Regions from separate parts of the Homo sapiens genome. Here all the other regions are linked to region 1. Evidence: promoter capture Hi-C in 16 types of primary human blood cells and fetal thymus (Javierre and others, 2016). All regions are on one chromosome and are shown on one strand. Each heading gives the region's core, a stretch centred on a gene start or on the middle of the fragment in contact. The rest is flanking DNA. Distances are from core to core; before and after follow the strand shown.

Region 1 (4,674 bases), core at 1,686-4,185:
GGAGGAACAGGTTTGGGGGAGGGCAGGGCTAATGGTGAGTTCATTTGGAGGCATATTGAGTTGGATTTGAAGTCTAAGAGAGCTAAGGGCTAGAGATAGGGATTTTGGAGTCATCAGCATATAATTGTTCATTTAAGTATTGGGACTTTATGAGCTGGCCAGGTGAAGGAGCCATAGAAGAAGTTGAAAATTTATTAGAGAAAGAGAATTATGATTGGGAACATTTATGGGAAAAGGGGAATTGTGAGGTCAGATTGTGAGAGAAAGCTGGGCAACTGGAATTGATTATTTTCTCTCCAATTTCTTAATATAAAAAGTAGCAAACCAAAAAAAGTTGAAAAAATAGTTCAAAGAGTACCTGTGTATCTTCCACTCCAGGTTAATAATTATTAATACTACCATACTAGCTTTATGTTTGTTGGTATGTGTGTGTCTGTCTTTTTCATTTTGTTGAATTATTTGAGAGTGGGAGTGCCTTATGGAGAAAATACATGTGATAAATAAGCTTCCTTCAGCTATGAGTTATAGGGCTCTTGGCCCTGAGTTCAGTGTTAACGAATCACAATGTAAAGATGTCTTTACATAAAAACACACATAAAACAAGGTTATAGGCCGGGCGCGGTGGCTCACGCCTGTAATCCCAGCACTTTGGGAGGCCGAGACGGGGGGATCACGAGGTCAGGAGATCGAGACCATCCTGGCTAACACGGTGAAACCCCGTCTCTACTAAAAATACAAAAATTAGCCGGGCATGGTGGCGCGCGCCTGTAGTCCCAGCTACACGGGAGGCTGAGGCAGGAGAATGGCGTGAACCCGGGAGGCGGAGCTTGCAGTGAGTCGAGATCGCGCCACTGCACTCCAGCCTGGGCGACAGAGCGAAACTCCGTCTCAAAAAAAAAAAAAAAAAAAAAACAAAACAAGGTTATATGTTGATCAGTTGATGAAAACATTGTCACCAGAGGCTCACAGGAACCTAATTCTGTACTTCCCCTAGTAGGAATGGTTTAGTATTCAATAATTATTTGTTGGTGGCTACTTATAAAATCTAACTATCACAGGTACAGTAATGAGAATTAACTATATGTCTTTCTATTCGTATTTCCTATCCTTTCTTACATAAAAATTAAAAATTTCTTTGTACTTTTTGTCTTTGAAAAATATTTCACTAAATAAAGAGAACTGTGTTCAAAAATCACTTGTGATGTTATGTTACCAATTTAATATACAATTAGGTGTATTAGTTTTAGTATGCATTCAATTTTAAGCTCACCTTTTTATTTTCTATTTTTTGAATATGTAAAACATGCACATGGATTAAAAGTCTCACTGTAAAGAAAGTTTTCACTTTCATCCCTATCCCCTCACCCCTTTGTAGTTAACCATTTTTGTGGTCTCTGATTTAACCTTCCAGAGTTGTTTTGTTGTTGTTGTTGCTGTTGTTTTGAGACAGAGTCTCACTCTTGTTGCCTAGGCTGGAGTGTAATGGCCCCATCTCGGCTCACCGCAACCTCTGTCTCCCGGGTTCAGACAATTCTCCTGCCTCAGCCTCCCGAGTAGCTGGGATTACAGGCATGCGCCACCATGCCTGGCTAATTTTTTTGTATTTTTGTAGAGACGGGGTTTCTCCATGTTGGTCAGGCTGGTCTCGAACTCCTGACCTCAGATGATCCGCCCACCTCGGCCTCCCAAAGTGCTGGGATTACAGGCGTGAACCACTGCGCCCGGCTTTTTTTGTTTTTGAGACAGAGCCTTGCTTTGTTGCCCAGGCTGGAGTGGTGGCACGATCTCGGCTCACTGCACCCTCCGCCTCCGAGGCTCAAGAGATTCTCCTGCCTCAACCTCCCCAGGAGCTGGGATTACAGGCGCGCGCCACCACGCCTGGCTAATTTTTTTTTTTTTTTTTTTTTTTTGGTAGAGACGGGGTTTCACCATGTTGGCCCGGCTGTTCTCGAACTCTTGGCCTCAAGTGATCTGCCAGCATCGGCCTCCCAAAGTTCTGGGATTACAGATGTGAGCCACCGCGCCCGGGCCCAGAGGTTTTTAAAATGCAAAAACAAATACATATACTTTTGTTTCCCTTCCTTCATTAAACTTCGCTTTTTTTTAAAAAAGAAAAAAACCCGTATACGTTGGAGGTCACTTTATATTGGTACTGTGAAATCATCCTCCTGTTTTATAAGCCGCGTGTTTACTTATAAGCACTCCACGGGTTAGTCAACTCATTGGAGCAAGCGTTTTGAAGTGTGGCAGATTGACAGTCCACCTGAAATCAGAATAACTGAGTTCAAATCCTGACTACACCATTTAACTCGTCGTTTCATCTTGAGCAAGTCCTTTACCATTTTTGTGTCTCAGTTTTCTCATCTGTAAAATGAGGCTGTTGTGGAAAAGACAGTAGACAGCTCACTGGGCTGTCATGAGCAACACATGAATTCACACATTTAAAGTGCTTATGACAGTGCATGGCGCATACGAAGCCCTCAAGTTAAATAAAAATCGGGGTAGGTGGGAGCGATGGAGATTTATAACAGCTTCCGGTAAATGTCGAGGCACAGTATTTCCAGAGCTTGTGCGAAGTAGGGAACCCAACAGCTCTCATGGCCTCGAAAGAAGGGGGATCCTGTGTCCGGGAAGCTCGGCCGCAGTCCTGCAATGTCTAGGGCAGCGGTGAGAGCGCTGTGGCTGGCTCAACGCAGCCCGACACCAGGGAAGACGCTCTGGCCCTCAGTTTCCCGGCAGCAAAGGAGCGCGAGGTGGTCTCCACTTTCAGCCTACTCGGTCCGGGGTTGCGAACTGTAAGGTCTGAGTTGCTGCGGCGCAGGCAGCGGAGACCAAGCAGGGATCTTAACAGGGTTTAGCGCCACGCGGGCCAGGGCCGAGGCCGGAGCTGGGAGGGGCGCGCCCGGGAAGGGGCGGAGCTGCGGCGGTGGCGCCAAATCGCAAATATGGCGCCGGAGCGGCTGCGGAGCCGGGCGCTCTCCGCCTTCAAGTTGCGGGGCTTGCTGCTCCGTGGGTGAGTGGGCTCGGGCAGCTTGAAGGGCGAGAGGGAAGAGCTGGGGCCCGTCTGCCTGGTGCGGCAGCGGGACGCACCGCGGCGGCTCCCCGCGCGCCGAGAGGGGGCTTGACCTTAAATTTCAGAGTTCTAAGAAGCGGTCGGGCGCGGTGGCTCACGCTTGTAATCCCAGCACTTTGGGAGGTCGAGGCGGGCGGATCACGAGGTCAGGAGATCGAGACCATCCTGGCCAACATGGTGAAGCCCCGTCTCTACTAAAAATACAAAAATTAGCTGGGCGTGGTGGCGCGCGCTTGTAGTCCCAGTTAGTTGGGAGGCTGAGGCAGGAGAATCGCTTGAACCCGGGAGGAGGAGGTTGCGGTGAGCCGATATCGTGCCACTCTACTCCATCCTGGCGACAGAGAGAGACTCCATTAAAAAAAAGTTCTAAGAAGCGAGGTGGATCTTGAGGCTGCCGTGCCTTCTTTGGTTTCCCCGACCCATGCGAGGAGTTTAATGTTTCTTCTAGGCGGGCCGAGGCTCTTCTGCACATGTCAAACTGAGCCCGAGAAGCTGCAACCTATCTATGGCAGCCGGTTATCAACATTGTGACCTGGACAGCTCTCAGGCTCCCGGGAAGGTTGCTGAGACATAAGATGAGAGACCCGAGAAAGCCCACTTGCACGTCTGCAGTTGCCAATTTATGTGAAAGTCAGGTTTCCTGGGCATATCCGTGTTTTTGAGGACCTATAGAACATATGAACCTTCCCAAGATTTCTCTCATTAAATCTGCTCCGTGTTTTAGAGTTCTATATGTACGTGTGTGTGTGTGTGTGTGTGTGTGTGTGTGTGTGTGGTGTGTGTGTATATATATATATGTATTTTTTTTTTTTTGAGTCATGGTCTCACTCTCGCCCAAGCTGGAGGGCAGTGATGCGAACTTGACTTACTGCAGCCTCAACCTCCTGGGCTGAAGTAGCTGGGACTGCAGGCATGGGCCACCATACCTGGCTGATTTTTTGTTGTTGTATGTTTTTTAGAGACGGGGTCTGGCTATGTTGCCCAGGCTGGTCTTGAACTCCTGGGCTCAAGTAGTCCTCGCGCCGTGGCCTCCCAGAATGCTGGAATTACAGGCGTGAACCACTGCGCCTGACCTAGAACACAATATTTTATACATATTGAAATACCTGCTGGATTGGATATACCTCTCTGTATCAGTTTTTATTGCTTTTGTGTGTGTAGATTTTTGGTTGGTTTTGTGAGTTTTATGGGACTTTTAACTGTGCTTTGGGAGATGCCTTGGGAGAAAATAATGAATTTTGTTCAATTGGTCCTTGACATTTTGAAAGCATGAGGAACTGATGAATTAACTTTCTTTTCGCTTAGAATTTGACCTAATATTAAGCTTTTGTTCATTAATTATTTCAGTCATAAGTATACTTAAATCTGTTAGCTGCAAAGCACCGTGCTGGGGTAAGGGGGTGCAATAGAGAGCAAGAGCTTTGTAGGGGGCAGATAATGTATTCTATTGCTGCGTGACAAATTACCCCACAATTTAAAGGCTAAAACAGTACACATTATCTCAAATTTTCTGTGGGTTAGGAATTCAGGTGTGGCTTAGTTGGGTCCTCAACTTCAGGGTCTTTTCACAAGGTTGCAGTCAAGATGGATCATCTCAAATG
Region 2 (4,398 bases), core at 110-2,609, 410 kb before region 1:
TGGTCTCGAACTCCTGACCTCAGGCCATCCACCTGCCTCAGCCTCTCAAAGTGCTGGGATTACAGACGTGAGCCACCGTGCCCAGCCAAGTTGAGGTCTTATAGATCACCCCAAATGTATAGATTGGGGGAAAGCCCAGGTTAAGGCCCTGGGAAGTACCAAAATTCAAGGAATTATTGGAAAAAAACAGAACACTTAAAGGTGAAATACTGAAATATCTTCTGCCTTGACTCCAGGGACAGTCAGTTCTCAAACAGGTTGATGGTCATATAGCTCCCATTTTTGTATTTCATACACTGAGACTTCCAACCTGACTTTCATCTGCCAGGATTAGATTTTATACATCTGCCCCCAAGTCAACATAATGATGCTGCCTGCTTAGCAGCTTAGCTATCTGCAGCAGTGCCATCTTTGCACCTTGGTACTTGGGCAGCTGTTTTAATACCTGGTCCTTGTTCTAAAAAAAATGAGAGAAGACCCCAAAATGAATATGTTGTTACTAATGATAAGCAACTCAGGTCTCAGATGAATACAACTTAGGATGGAAGCCACTGGTATTCAGAAAGCAGTAAATCTTGTAGCCTCAATAGCTGCTCGTTGGACTTAGTTTGATTGTGAGTTCACTTATGAAAAGGAATGAGGAAAATATGAGTATAGAACCAATATTGGAAATATTGTTGAACATGTGGATCTATTTCTTTTTCTTTTTGATACTGGAACTTTTCTCCTATTTGACTTAAGTAGGTCTGACTTTCTCCGCCCAGCGTCTGGTTGCTCCTCCGTCACCATCCTTCGTTCCTTTTCCTTCTCTGTTGCTTAACTCACAATTCCCTGGGGCTCTGTCTTTTGACCACTCACCTCTGCACACATAGATCTTGCAATTTTCATGATTCCAACTACAAGCTTATTGTAGAGGCCCCCTCTCTAGACCTCTAGCTCCGATCCCTCTCTTAAGTCTGACCTCTCCCCTTCAGCTGCCTGCCTGATGTCTTCCTTTGCTTGCCCAACCAAGAGTATGTCTTAGCAAAATTTCTGCAAAAATAGACTCTTCTGCCTCATATTCTTGTTTTACTAATGGCATCACCATTCTTTTAGCATTTCTAATTTCTTCTGCCTCACATGAACTCAGCGTGTCATACACTGATCTGTGATGGGTTCTCACAGTCTTCCCCCACTTTCCATCTTCACGGCCATCATCACCTCAGGTTGGGCCTCACTCCTCTAATAGTCTCCCCACCTTCAATATCTCTCTACACTTATCTGTGCAGGCGGTGGTGGCAGAGCGTACTCCTAACCTGGGGTTCCAGACTTTTCATCATGCTACTCCCAATAGCCCACCAAGTTCAGGAGAGACTTGGGTTTCCTGACCGAGGCTAACCCACAGGATTCCCCCTGCATAAGAGGCCCTTCTTTTCTGGGGTAGCTAGTGCCAAGGATAAAGTAAGTTTTGAGCTGCTCAAGAGTAAAAGTCAAGATAGAGGAAAGCAGAGTCTAGAAGCAAACAGAGAAATTAGAACGTTTTTCCGATGATTCTGTTTGAGTCTCTGAAGCCAGCTATGTCTAAAGCCACCGCAGCTCCTGGACTTCCCAGTTACCTCACCTAGTTAACTCTGTTCTGCTGGTTTGGGGCTGGGTTTCTCTCCCTTGCAGTGGATCAGATCCTAACTGGTAGAGCATTCAAACCTTTCAGCCCATTAAACCCTACTCTTAAGATCCTTCTCAATCATTACCTTCCCAGAAAGTAATCTGCTTTTTAAGTTTGCATTTTGTCCATAATACCCACCAGATCATCTTAACAGTTGATTTAGAAGCTTTCTAGAATAGTGTTGGTTGCTGATCATACTGTGGAGATCTTATCAAACTACAAAAGTAAGCGTTATGAAACTCATCAGAAAGTAAAAGGGAGGAAACAAAAACCTGCTGTGGGAGTGGTTTGATTTAAATGTAACAAAAGAGGAAATGTACTTCTTTGCACCCAGAAAGTGTTCAAGCCTGCACCTCTCCATCCCCCAATCAAGGGATCATTATTTAGTGAGAATAACTCAAGAGATGAGAAAATGAGTAGCTTACATAAGGAGGTAGATTCTGGGGCTTGGTTCTAACCCCCATGATTATGGGGGTTCCTGAGAAGTGGAGGGAGAATTGCAACATGTATTAGGAGAGGTACTTGGGCAGTGAGGTTTGCCATCTGGAGAGCAAGTGTTTTTTTGTTTGTTTGTTTTGTTTTTTCTTTTCGTTTTTTCTGAGACAGAGTTTCGGTCTTGTCGCCCAGGCTGGAGTGCAATGGCGCAATCTCGGCTCACTGCCGCAACCTCCGCCTCCTGGGTTCAAATGATTCTCCTACCTCAGCCTTCTGAGTAGCTGGGATCACAGGCATGTGCCACCATGCCCAGCTAATTTTGTATTTTTAGAAGAGACAGAGTTTCTGCATGTTGATCAGGCTGGTCTGGAACTCCCGACCTCAGGTGATCTGCCTGCCTTGGCCTATCCACCTGCCTCGGACTCCTAAAGTGCTGGGATTACAGGTGTAAGCCACTGTGCCTGGCCTTTTTTCTTTTTTAAAACTTATTAAAACAAACAAATCAACAACAACAACAACAAAATGAGGTCTTGCTACTTTGCCTAGGCTAGTCTTGAACTCCTGGGCTCAAGCGATTCTCCTACCTCAGCCTCCCAAAGTGCTGAGATTACAGGCATGAGCCACTGCACCTGGCCAGGAGAGCAAGTTTTAAAACTGGCCAGGTCACTATTCACAATAGCAAAGACTTGGAACCAACCCAAATGTCCATCAATGATAGACTAGATTAAGAAAATGTGGCACATATACACTATAGAATACTATGCAGCCATAAAAAAGGATGAGTTCATGTCCTTTGTAGGGACATGGATGAAGCTGGAAACCATCATTCTCAGCAAACTATCGCAAGGGCAGAAAACCAAACACCGCATGTTCTCACTCATAGGTGGGAATTGAACAATGATAACACTTGGACACAGGAAGGGGAACACAACACACAGGGTCCTGTTGTGGGGTCGGGGGAGGGAGGAGGGATAGCATTAGGAGATATACCTAATGTTAAACGATGAGTTAATGGGTGCAGCACACCAACATGGCACATGTATACTTATGTAACAAACCTGCACGTTGTGCACATGTACCCTAGAACTTAAAGTATAAAAAAAAAAGAAAATGGTTGTGAATATTTTGAGTCTAATAATAAATTTTGCCTTTCTTTAAAAAAAAAAAAAAATCTGACCAGGTGTTGTAACTCACGCTTGTTGTAATCCCAGTACTTTGGGAGGCCGAGGCAGGAGGATCATTTGAGACCAGCCTGGATAATGTAGTGGGACCTTGTCTTTACTAAAAATAAATTTCAAAAAATTAACCTGGCGTGGTGGCACATACCTGAAGTTCCAGCTACTGGACAGGCTGAGGTGGGGGCAGTGCTTGAGCCCAGGAGATGAGCCAGCAGTCAGCTATGATCGTGCCACTGTGCTCCAACCTGGGCGACAGAGCACGAACTTAGCTTAAAAAAAATAGTTTTAAAACTGAAGGTGTTTTCTTGTTGCTTTTCTCTTGGATTATGGGGAAAGTCACTTTCAGAGTGGAGTTTCAATTTTTTTCCTTTTCTGTTGTATTTCCCTTCAGTTACCCAGCCTTCAGGAAAATCTGACACTTGGGTACTGCCTATGTGTGGTGGCAGAAAGTGAAGACAGAGGCCAGTATAGGACACATACCTGCCCCACATCTACTGTTCCCACGGTAGAGTCCTAGGTTGATCTTAAAGGCAGCTTTGATGATTGACAGATGATTGGCTGCAGTTGTAGCAGAATTAACCAGCTTACCAGGTTAAATGTTGGGGTTGCGTGTGGGTGGGCTTCAGACTCAAAAATTGATGGAAGTGCCGGCTGGGCGTGGTGCTCACGCATGTAATCCCAGCATTTTGAAAGGCCGAGGCAGGTGGATCGCTTGAGGTCAAGAGTTCCAGACCAGACTGGCCAACATGGTGAAACCCTGTCTGTACTAAAAACACAAAAATTAGCCAGGCATGGTGGCGTGCGCCTGTAATCCCAGCTACTCGGGAGGTTAAAGCAGGAGAATTGCTTGAACCCAGGAGGCAGAGTTTGCAGTGAGACGAGATCTTGCTGCTGCACACCAGCCTGGGCAACAGAGTGACATTCCATCTCAAGAAAAAAAAAAAAAGAAAAAGAAAAAAAATTCTGACAGAAGTTCTGCCTCATTGATCTGCTTAATGTGATCAGGGATAACATAGGATCCAAGCTAATCCTGCCACTTAGCAATTCAGAGCTATGCATTTAGATGACGATCTCTGTCCAGCCCTGTGAAATATGAGCAGAGGAGCAGAGGTAGGTGTGTGTGTGTGAGACAGAGAGAGA
Region 3 (4,388 bases), core at 483-2,982, 490 kb before region 1:
AATACTGTATTGAGGGAGAGTATGCAAGTTAGTTGGTTCAGGAATACACTTAGATAAAATGAAAATAAGTGGAGAGATACAAATAAAATTTTATTTTTACTATCTCAACACTAACAACAAAAGTTATGTTGGCATAGGTAATACTTGGCTAAATATGTAAAACTTCTACATCTAAACTGACTTTTCCAGCCAGACGTGGTGGCTCTTGCCTATAATCCCAGCACTTTGGGAGGCTAAGGTCAGAGGATTGCTTGGACCCAGGTGTTTGAGACCAGCCTGGGCAAAATAGGGAGACCTCATCTCTACAAAATATAAAAACTTAGCCGAGTGTGGTGGCGTGCACCTGTGGCATGCCAGGAGAATTGCTTGAGCCTGGGAGGTCAAGGCTGCAATGAGTCATGATCACGCCACTGCACTCCAGCCTTGGGTACAGAGTGAGACCCAGTCTCAAAAAAAATAAAAATAAAAAATAAACTGGCTTTTACCCCTTGACGTTTGAATATGGTAAAAATCCTTATAGTCCTGAAACAAACAAGCAAACAAATGAACAAACCTTTCTTCACTCTAGTAGAATAATTAACTAGAGTGAAGAAAGTTTTTTCATTTCCTCTCTCATTTTTTCTTTGCAGCCAATTGTCTTTATATTATTTTTTACCATTCTTTATGAAAACACTACCATGTATGTTTTAATCAGGATATAAATTGCCTTTGACAAGTAACTTAATTGCCAAATCCAGTGGATATTTTTATTTCATACTTAATGTCTGTAGTATTTGTTACTGCTCTTATCTCTTGGTTCCTGTATACCTGAAGGCTGGGCGTGATGTCTCATGCCTGTAATCCCAGCACTTTGGGAGGCTGAGGTGGGTGGATCGGATCACCTGAGGTCAGGAGTTCCAGACCAGCCTTGCCAGCCTGGCGAAACCCTGTCTCTACTAAAAAATGCAAAAATTAGCTGGGTGTGGTGGCATGCACCTGTAATCCCAGCTACTCGGGAGGCTGAGGCAGGAGAATTGCTTGAACCCGGGAGGCGGAGGTTGCAGTGAGCCGAGATCGTGCCACTACACTCCAGCCTAGGTGACAGAGCAAGACCCTGTCTCCAAAAAATATATATATATATATGTGTGTGTATATGTGTGTATATATATATATATATATATATATATATATATATATATATGCACACACACACACACACACACACTAGCGGGCATGGTGGTGCACACCTGTAGTTCTAGCTACTACAGAGGCAGAGGCAGGAGGATCACTTGGAGGCAGGAGGATCACTTGAACCCAGGAGGTGGGGGTTGCAGTGAGCCGAGATTGCAACACTGCACTCAAGCCTGGGCTACAGAGTGAGACTCTGTCTCAACAAAAAAAAGAAAAAGAAGACTGAGACTGGGTGATTTATAAAGAAAAGAGATTTAATTGGCTCAGAGTTCCACAGGCTCTACAGGAAGCACGGCTGGGGAGGCCTCAGGAAACTTACGATCATGGCGGAAGCCAAAAGGGAAGCAGGCACGTCTTCACATGGTCAAAGCAAGAGGAAGGAGCAGGGAGGTGCCACACACTTTTAAACAACTAGATCTCCTGAGAACTCTATTACAAGAACAGCATTAAAGGAAGAAATCCACCCCCATGATCCAGTTACCTCCCACTAGGCCCCACCTCCAAAATTGGGGATTACAGTTGAACATGAGATTTGGACGGGGACACAAAATCAAACCATATCAGCTCCTGTGATACTACATGTTCCCAATTTTCGTCTTCTCTGATTTCTTCTTCTAAGTCTCTTAATTATTATAGCTATTATCCAACTTCTGTTATCAGCCCCTGTTTTTCTGTTCTGTGCTCTCCTTGGGTGACTTCATGTCTATATACTGGTGACTTCTTATTTGTATTTCCAGGCCATCACTTTCTTTTAAGCACTGTGTACCGTGTACATATGTGTATGTATCTATACACTTTCATATAACCAGCTGCCTTGAATTGATGCACTTGGATACCCTAAACGCACTTCAAATATGACATGTTTAAAACTGAACTTACCATCTTCTCCCTGCCTTCTGTACTATAAATTCCCATTGTTTATTATCTTCCACTTCTCTATTGTCAAAAATTTGTTATCATGGAATACAAATTATACTTAATTCTCAAAATTACTTCAAGAGAGGAATATTTTTAAAGTTAACTCATATATTCATATAAAGTATGCATTAAATACACAGTCTATAAGAACTTTGGATACTCATTAAAAGCACTCAACACATTTCTTGTTTCAGTCCTATTTTATTAGGAATTTTTGCTGTGGAATTTGAATGTTAAAGGGCCCAGTTATTAATAAAGCTGTCATCCTAGATATTCAGTGAAATTGGAAGAGTTAGATGAAATCCTTTTTCGGGCCAAACTCAATTGTTTTAACTTAAAAAAAAATTCATTCAGTTTAAGATAAAATAATGCTTCCTTAATAAAACTAAAAACAAAAAGCATCTTTAGAAGCTGTGTAGCGTACTTTATTTATTTATTTATTTAGAGACAGGGTCTCACTCTGTTGCCCAGGCTGGAGTGCAGTGGCACAGTCTCAGTTCATTGCAACCTCCGCCTCCCGGGTTAAAGCGATTCTCCTGCCTTAGCCTCTTGAGTGACTGAGACTACAAGTGTGGACCACCACGCCTGGCTAATTTTGGTATTTTTTTGGTAGAGACAGAGTTTCACCATATTGGCTAGGCTGTTCTGTTGACCATGAGGCACCATACCTGGACTGTGTAGCAGACTTAAAAAAATAAGATTTGAAGTTAGAACTTAAGGCTTTGGGCCAATTAATAGTTTTGTTTGTTTGTTTGCGGCGGAATCTCGCTCTTTCACCCAGGCTGGAGTGCAGTGGCGCGATCTTGGCTCACTGCAACCTCTGCCTCTTGGGTTTAAGGAGTCCTCCTGCCTCAGCCTCCTAAGTAGCTGGGACTACAGGCGCATGCCACCACACCTGGCTAATTTTTGTATTTTTAGTAGAGATGGGGTTTCCCCATGTTGGCCAGGCTGTTCTCAAACTCTTGACTTCAGGTAATCCTCCTGACTCAGCCTCCCAAAGTGCTGGGATTACAGGCGTGAGCCATCACGCCCAGCCCCAGTTAATGGTTGTGTTACCTTGAGCAATTCACTTAATCTCTGAGACTCAGTTTGCTCATTTGTAAAATGGTGATCATCATAATATATACCTCTTATAGTTATTAGGAAATTAAATGGTAATGTATATATAAAGCATAAGCATAATGTTTGATGTGTATTAAATACTCAAATGTAGCTCCTGTTATTATCAGAGGACTCCTTACACTGTAAATACATGCTACAAAAATTTTAGAATGCACTTTATCAGGCATTTTAGTACAAATAAGCAAAACAGTTGATCTTGTAGACTAATTTTGAAGTTTCATATTGGTTCCAGTTCAAGCACTGTATATAAAATATCCAGAATAATTCACTATATTAATTAGTTTAATACTGTCTTAGTCTATTCAGGCTGCTCTAATAAAATATCATAAACTGGATGGCTTATAAACAATAGAAATTTATTTCTCACAGTTCACATTTAGGAAGTCCCATATCAAGAGGCTAACAGATTTGGTGTCTAGTTTGGTGCCCTAGTGAGGGTTTGCTCTTCTGGTTCATAGATGGTGCTTTCTTGTTGTGTCCTCACATGATGGATAGCACAAACAAGCTCCCTTAGGCCCCTTTTATAAGGGCACTAACCCCGTTCACAGGGGCTCTGCCCTCATATCCAATCACCTCCTAAAGGCCCCATCTCTTAATACTGTTGCATTGGGGATTAGGTTTCAATATATGACTTTTGAGGGAACACAAACATTCAGATCATAACAAATGTGAAAATGAATTAATCTTTAGGAAAATTGGTGGCACTTTTTGTGTATCCTAGTAAGAAGTTTGGTTACTGGATAATAAGTCTGTTGAAAAGATTATAATTTAACAAAATGTGAAAATTATGGTAATATTTATGAAGATTTTTTTAAAGCAGCATATCAGATTCTTTCTCACATTTTATATTGGTGTGGTTGGTGTTTTTCTTATGGGGAGAAATACTAGTAAGTGAACTATATAGACATTTAAAATTAACATGAGTTAAATCCATTATAAATTTTAGAAAACCATTTATTCTACAGTAGTTTCCAAAACTGGGGTATACCTATCCCAAGCTATACACTAAGATTTTTCAGGATATATAAAGGCACAGAGAGCTTTAAGGGAATCTGTTTCTAGTCTTCGGAGATCTTGTTTATGTTTTTTGCATTGTCTTTTCCAAAGTCTCTTACTTGTTACCTTTTGCTGTTATGTATTTCCCATTATGCATTGATCCAAGATGTAAAAACCTCTAG

The links. The method cuts DNA at HindIII sites, captures the fragments that hold promoters and counts their contacts. A CHiCAGO score of 5 or more calls a contact.
Region 2: a contact is called between a fragment that was not itself captured here and the fragment with the promoter of POLE2 in region 1, in 1 of 17 cell types (fetal thymus). The highest score is 5.4, in fetal thymus.
Region 3: a fragment that was not itself captured here is called in contact with the fragment with the promoter of POLE2 in region 1 in 2 of 17 cell types (activated CD4 T cells and naive CD8 T cells); the score reaches 5.9 in activated CD4 T cells.

Annotation. Positions count from the first base shown.
Region 1 is chr14:49,686,475-49,691,148 of GRCh38, reverse strand. POLE2 (DNA polymerase epsilon 2, accessory subunit) reads left to right here and starts at 2,935. Exons shown (of 19, transcript NM_002692.4): 1 at 2,935-3,013. The coding sequence starts at 2,946. RefSeq lists a silencer at 2,823-2,872 and enhancers at 2,177-2,936, 2,937-3,698. The HindIII fragment of the contact is 3,892 bases long and covers 508-4,399 here.
Region 2 is chr14:50,093,612-50,098,009 of GRCh38, reverse strand. All of the region lies in intron 1 of LINC01599 (long intergenic non-protein coding RNA 1599), which reads left to right. Among named protein-coding and RNA genes, the nearest start is that of LINC01599, 9.2 kb to the left of the region's middle. The HindIII fragment of the contact is 908 bases long and covers 906-1,813 here.
Region 3 is chr14:50,175,464-50,179,851 of GRCh38, reverse strand. All of the region lies in intron 7 of SOS2 (SOS Ras/Rho guanine nucleotide exchange factor 2), which reads left to right. Among named protein-coding and RNA genes, the nearest start is that of SOS2, 54 kb to the left of the region's middle. The HindIII fragment of the contact is 5,834 bases long and covers 1-4,388 here.